2 separate regions of the Homo sapiens genome follow, and region 1 is linked to region 2. Evidence: promoter capture Hi-C in human tissues and cell types (Jung and others, 2019). All regions are on one chromosome and are shown on one strand. The core of a region is centred on a gene start or on the middle of the fragment in contact, and the rest is flanking DNA. Distances in the headings are between cores, read along the strand shown.

Region 1 (2,996 bases), core at 81-2,580, 270 kb before region 2:
GACACATGGTTGATATGGCAGAGTGTTCAGACATAAGCAGTGCCCTATGAGGAACAGCTATTACTGAATTCCCCTGTCTTGCATTTACAGCAAGTTTATGAGAACTATGGGAGGAAAATGAAGCTTAAACTTTCTTTCATTAATTAAGGAGGAAGAATGTTTTTTTTGAGACAGGGTCTGGCTCTGTTGCCCAGGCTGGAGTGCAGTGGCGCAATCTTGGCTCACTGCAACCTCTGCCTCCCAGGCTCAAGCCATCCTCCCACCTCAGCCTCCCGAGTAGTTGGGACTACAGGCGTGTACCACCATGCCTGGCTAATTTTTGTATTTTTTGTAGACATGGGTTTTTGCCATGTTGCCCAGGCTGGTCTTGAACTCCTGAGCTCAAGCAGTCTGCCTGCCTCAGCCTCGCAAAGTGCTGGGATTACAGGCATAAGCCACTGCACCCAGCCAGGAGAAAGAATTTTAAAACTATCTTTCTGTAAGAAAAAAGTACATTGCAACATAAATTCTCAGAAAAAAACTTTAAAAGACATCTTGCAGAAGGTCATCATACCACTAAGATAAGAATAACACCATCCTAAAGAGTATAAGGCTTTATAGTTTAGAAAGCAGTTTTAAGTCTACCCCTTCATTTAATACCTGCAAAAACCCAGTGAAGTAGCATTTATCCCCATTTTACCGATAAGGAAACTAGGACTCAGAAAGATGAAACTAAAGGCTGCAGAAGTGGTGGAGCCAGGATTTCAAGCCTTCTAAAGTACAAATTCAGCACTCTTTGCAATTCACAAGAGAATTCCGTGTTCACTGAGTACTGAGCCTACATTGTTTCAACATGTCTGAAATGGCATTTCAGGAACCCAGAGTGGAATGACCAGGTTAGCAACATGGTTAGAGAAGTGCAGCCCTCTGGATCACTTGTGGCTACCCTGAAATAGTTTTCCGTGGTTGAGGAGGACTCAGGTGGCATAAGCTGCCCCCACTCTGACATGTTTGAGAAATCTTTTATTAGAAGATGTCCCAGAAGGCAACATTTTAAAATCAGGCAATCAGTAATCACAACTAAATACAAAATTTCAGGTGAACTTGCCTTTCAAAATAAATCAGACCCTTGCAACAGGAAATTGCCCCAAGAGTTTTTTTCCTTGTACAAAAACAGTTAACACCACTTTGCAAAAGGCATACAAAAATACAATATAAAAAAAAAAGACTCCCCCAGCATAATAGCCAACAGCAGCTTATAAAACACAAGCTATTCAGTTGAGACATCAGTAACCTACACCCAAACTGTCCTCCATAGACAATTCCAGAAGTCAGCTGGCTTTTGTAAACCATGCTCCAGAAGGGTAGAGAGGCTATTTCCAAACATCCCCTGGGGTCCTCTGAGGCCAAGAAGCAACCTCAGAAAGAAACCATTATGGACAATAGATTTGGAAGTAGCAGCTGGTTTTCCAGAGCCATATATAGTACTTACCACCCCCTACCCACCCCAACTTCCAAACCCAGAGCCAGCAGGCACCTGCTGTCCTGGGCAGAGTTCTGGAGGGGCTGCTGGTCCTTCTTCCAGGACAGGCTTAGAGGTGCCTGAGGTTACCCACATGACAACTGCTAGGTTGGGTGACTTTCCCAGACTAGAAGCTGCACGTGGATTCCACTTGGAGCTGCCGAGTCCAGCTGGGGTAAAATCCATCATGGTTGGCTAAGCATATCTCCTGGAGGCTCCTTTAAAACCCACCAGAAGCAAGTCCACCTTCTGGAGCACTGGATGAGTCCCAACAGCTCTCCCCAAAACTTCAGAAACGCCCAGATTCTGGGAAAGATATCTGATTCATGGCAGGCTGGAAGGGGCCCAAGGGTGGCTGCAGAGCCAGCAAGCTCCTTGGAATTGCATGAGGAGGACAGATTTGCATGGTTCCAGAAGAACTTCAAACTTGCCGCTCAAGGATTGAGATGAGGCAGGTGGGAAAGAGGCAGCAGTACAGTTCTCCCTCTGAGGTGTCTTACACCTGCCTTGAGAAAAGACTGGGCCTCAAGTGCCCCTCGGAAAACACCTGGGCAGGGATCAAGTTCATGGGCCAGGACTCCAAGCTATCCCCAGGCCCCAGGCTAGGACCGATTTCCCTGTGTCTTGGGGAAATATTTCTGACCTGTGGGAAAGGGTGCTGTAGAGCCCATTGCATAACAAGGCATAATGGAACAAAAAAGTCCCTTGTGAGGAAAGAAAGGTCCCTCCCTCAGAGGAGAGAGCCCAGAGGGCTCTGAGACAAAGAATCTAGAGGCCAAGCTTTTTAAGTGTTCCCAGGGTCGCAGCATTGGGAGTGGGAGGAAGGGGGTCAGCTAACATCATAATATATAAAGGTTTCCAACTCCTTGGCTACTGTAAAGTGTCTGACAGTGAGGTAATGGTCAATGTTGATCAAGTCTGCAAGCTTGTCTTCACCCAAGACAGCTCGTGTGTCTTCTGGAAAAAGGAGCCTCAGGGAGAGCATCCAGGCCCAGCTGTCCTTGCATCACCCCAGAGACACCAGTTGGGAGCATCCTTTCCTAGCCTAAAGCTCATGCAGAGTGTGAGATTTCATGCAGGCTGGAGCCCCTGACAACATCCACCACCTGTTGCATAGCATCTGTCAGCCTTTTCTTCAGAGCTAGTGAGCTAGGCAGACCCCAAGGCTCCTCAGTCAGCTGCCTGCTGGGAAGCCAAAGGCGCCAGAGAACATACAGCACTCCCATGAGTCAGGGAAGAGGGAGAGCTGGGTTTCAAGGTTTCCAAGAATGCAAGCCTTTATTGTGTGTGCACCGGCTGCAATGCATTCTGGGATCTACTGTCCAGACTGTCCCACCATAACCAAAATGTGCAAATTACTAAAGGGGAGAGGGAGGTTAAAAAATAAACTTGTGTCTTCGTAAGACAGAACTGTCAGGCTTTTTGGTCAGTTAGTAGCCAGTGAGGTATGCAATTCTTTTCTGCAACTGCTGCTGCCGGCATCGGAGCTGTCTTT
Region 2 (2,980 bases), core at 471-2,970:
TTTCGATTTTGGGAACTATTTGTTTGTTTGTTTGTTTGTTTTTTGAGACGGAGTCTTGCTCTGTCACCCAGGCTGGAATGCAGTGGCGCGATCTCGGCTCACTGCAACCCCTGCCTCTCAGGTTCACGCCATTCTCCTGCCTCAGCCTCCCGAGTAGCTGGGACTACAGGCGCCCGCCACCACGCCCGGCTAATTTTTTGTATTTTTAGTAGAGACAGGGTTTCACCGTGTTAGCCAGGATAGTCCTGATCTCCTGACCTCGTGATCTGCCCGCCTCGGCCTCCCAAAGTGCTGGGATTACAGGCGTGAGCCACCTCGCCCAGCCCGGGAACTGTTTTGGATACTAATCAAAACAATGGTTATGGCTGGGCGCGGTGGCTCACGCCTGTAATCCCAGCACTTTGGAAGGCCAAGGCGGGCGGATCACTTGAGGCCAGGAGTTCGAGATCAGCCTGGCCAACACAGTGAAACCCCGCCTCTACTAAAAATACAAACATTAGCCAGGCATGGTGGCGGACGCTTATAGTGCCAGCTACTTTGGGAGGCTGAAGCACGAGAATCACTTAAACCTGAGAGGCAGAGGTTGCAGTGAGCCTAGATCGTGCCACTGCACTCCAGGCTGGGTGACAGAGTGAGACCCTGTCTCAAAAAACAACAACAATAAACAATGGTTATATATATGGGGAATATCATTTAGTCTGTGGCTTGTCTTTGTGTGCTTTTTCAACTTGTTATACGGAAGTAACACATTTTAATACAGTCAAATCTAAATATTTTCCCTTATGGTTTGTGCTTTTCCGGTCTTATTAAGAAATTCTTAGCCGGGCGCGGTGGCTCACGCCTCTAATCCCAGCACTTTGGGAGGCTGAGGCGGGCGGATCACCTGAGGTCAGGAGTTCGAGACCAGCCTGACCAACATGGAGAAACCCCATCTCTACTAAAAATACAAAATTAGCCAGGTATGGTGGCGCATGCATGTAATCCCAGCTGCTCCGGAAGCTGAGGCAGGAGAATGTTTGAACCAAGGAGGCGGAGGTTGCGGTGAGCTGAGATAGCACTGTTGCACTCCAGCCTGGGCAACAAGGGTGAGACTCCGTCTAAAAAAAAAAAAAAAAATTCTTCCCTATTTTTGACATTATAAAGCTATTTTTATTTTCTGAAAAATGTTTGCAGGTCTTTAATCCATCTCGGCCTTATTTTTGGAAATGGTTTGAGGTAGAAATCTAATCATTTATTTCCCTTTTGGAAAAAATGTCTCATCGCCATTTATTGAAGAGTCTGTCCTTTCGCCCACTGACTTGTAATGCCGTCTGTATCATAAACCAAGTTCCCTTGATGTTACTCTTCATTTCGGCCTCACAATCTTTGCTTATTTTCCTTCTACCAGGGATGCTTTTCGCTATGTTCCTTTCAGGGCTACCTTCCTCTTGTCCCTTCAGATCGCAGTTCAAATGTCATCCCCCTCAAATCTAGATTGCTCTACAGGCATTTCTGGCTCCGTGATCCCATGACCTCAAAGGGGTCTAGGTGGGCATAGCCTCTAGCCAGTTGTTGCTAGGCTGTTGTCAGGACTGGCGATGCGTAGGCCACTGAGAGCACCCGGAGTCCGAGTGACGGAATCAGGCGGGCGCCCGCGTCGCTAAGGAGTGCGTCACAGTGCGCGGGCGGCCGGGGGCAGGGCCAGGGCTGAGTCACGTGGCTTGGTTGCCTACGCGCTGGTGGGCCGTGGGAAGATGGCGGACGGAAAGGGAGACGCCGCCGCTGTCGCCGGGGCTGGGGCTGAGGCTCCGGCGGTAGCGGGAGCCGGAGATGGAGTCGAGACTGAGTCCATGGTTCGGGGTCATCGCCCCGTATCTCCAGCGCCGGGAGCCTCGGGACTGCGGCCGTGTCTGTGGCAGCTGGAGACAGAGCTGAGGGAGCAAGAGGTGTCGGAGGTCTCATCTTTGAACTACTGCCGGAGCTTCTGCCAGGTGAGGGGCTGACTGGCTGGCTGAGGGCGGCGGGGCGGGGAAGTCAGGGAAGGAGGCCCTGGATCCTCTGTAAGCAGCCGGGTCCAAACTGAAAGGCGCCACCTCCGTGACTCGCCGCGCCCCCGGGCCGGGAAGGCCCAGCTCGGAAGCTCGACCGCTGGCCCCCCTGCGCCACTGCCCGACTTTGGCCACCGCTGGGTCGTTTTGCTCTGAGCCTTACTGAGATCCCGGAGGGCCCTGGCGGGTCCCTGGAAGGGCTGTGCCCTGTCGCCGTTGCCTGTGTCCTGGCCGGGTGGTTGGAGCGCCACTGCCCCCTGAGGGATTGATTGCTTGTCCCTGCCGGGAGATCCTTTTTTGAGTGGAGTGCAGATCTCCGAACTGGTAAACCCGGGTTTTTCTGAATAATCCAGAGAGGTGTGTTGGGGCCAGAGACTTATTTTTGGAGTTAACATCTTCTGGGCTCCTAAAAGGTATGACAGTTGGCTTCGAAAGGCGTCTAGAGCTTTCTGATTAGGGATTGCGGAGCCGGTTGGTTGTTTGGTTTTTGCTTTTTTTTTTTTTACGTTTAAGCCGTTCTTTCGTCTTTTCTGTATTTCTTTGAGAGGATTGTGCTACCGAGAATAAGGCTGACTCTTTGAGTAGAAGAGGATGGGAAGAGGGATGTAGAGTGTGGCCTCTTTTGGCAGTCGTATGATCATTTCTGTGCCTTGGTGGGTCCTAACCTATGATTACATATTTATGGGTGTGTTTAGTTTAGTCTCCATGACCACTCCGAGATTTTTCTGTATGTTTTCAAGTCTTTTACAAATACAAATATTGGCCATTATTATTTCTGCTTCCAATGTTTGTTCTGTCAGGTTTCAGAGGCACCCATCAGCTCCTTATCTGTTGTACCTTAGAAAATGCAAAATAATCGTGGCATGTTGGTACTTGGAGTCTAATAAGTAGTCCAGTATGCTGAATAAATTGCGGCGTTCTAAAATAATAATTTTGGGGGGCAATTTGCTCTG

What was found. The method cuts DNA at HindIII sites, captures the fragments that hold promoters and counts their contacts. A contact is called where the count stands out against the background at its distance.
Region 1: a contact is called between a fragment that was not itself captured here and the fragment with the promoter of RLF in region 2, in 1 of the 25 tissues and cell types used here (liver).

Annotation. Positions count from the first base shown.
Region 1 is chr1:39,894,441-39,897,436 of GRCh38, forward strand. It overlaps MYCL (MYCL proto-oncogene, bHLH transcription factor), which reads right to left. Exons shown (of 2, transcript NM_001033081.3): 2 at 988-2,996. The coding sequence ends at 2,932. All of the region lies in intron 1 of MYCL-AS1 (MYCL antisense RNA 1), which reads left to right. Among named protein-coding and RNA genes, the nearest start is that of MYCL, 6.0 kb to the right of the region's middle. The HindIII fragment of the contact is 4,329 bases long and covers 1-2,996 here.
Region 2 is chr1:40,159,667-40,162,646 of GRCh38, forward strand. RLF (RLF zinc finger) reads left to right here and starts at 1,721. Exons shown (of 8, transcript NM_012421.4): 1 at 1,721-1,970. The coding sequence starts at 1,734. LOC105378671 (a long non-coding RNA gene) reads right to left here and starts at 1,612. Exons shown (of 3, transcript XR_947232.3): 1 at 1,299-1,612. RefSeq lists a silencer at 183-384 and enhancers at 1,393-2,009, 1,497-2,006, 2,010-2,625. The HindIII fragment of the contact is 7,287 bases long and covers 1-2,980 here.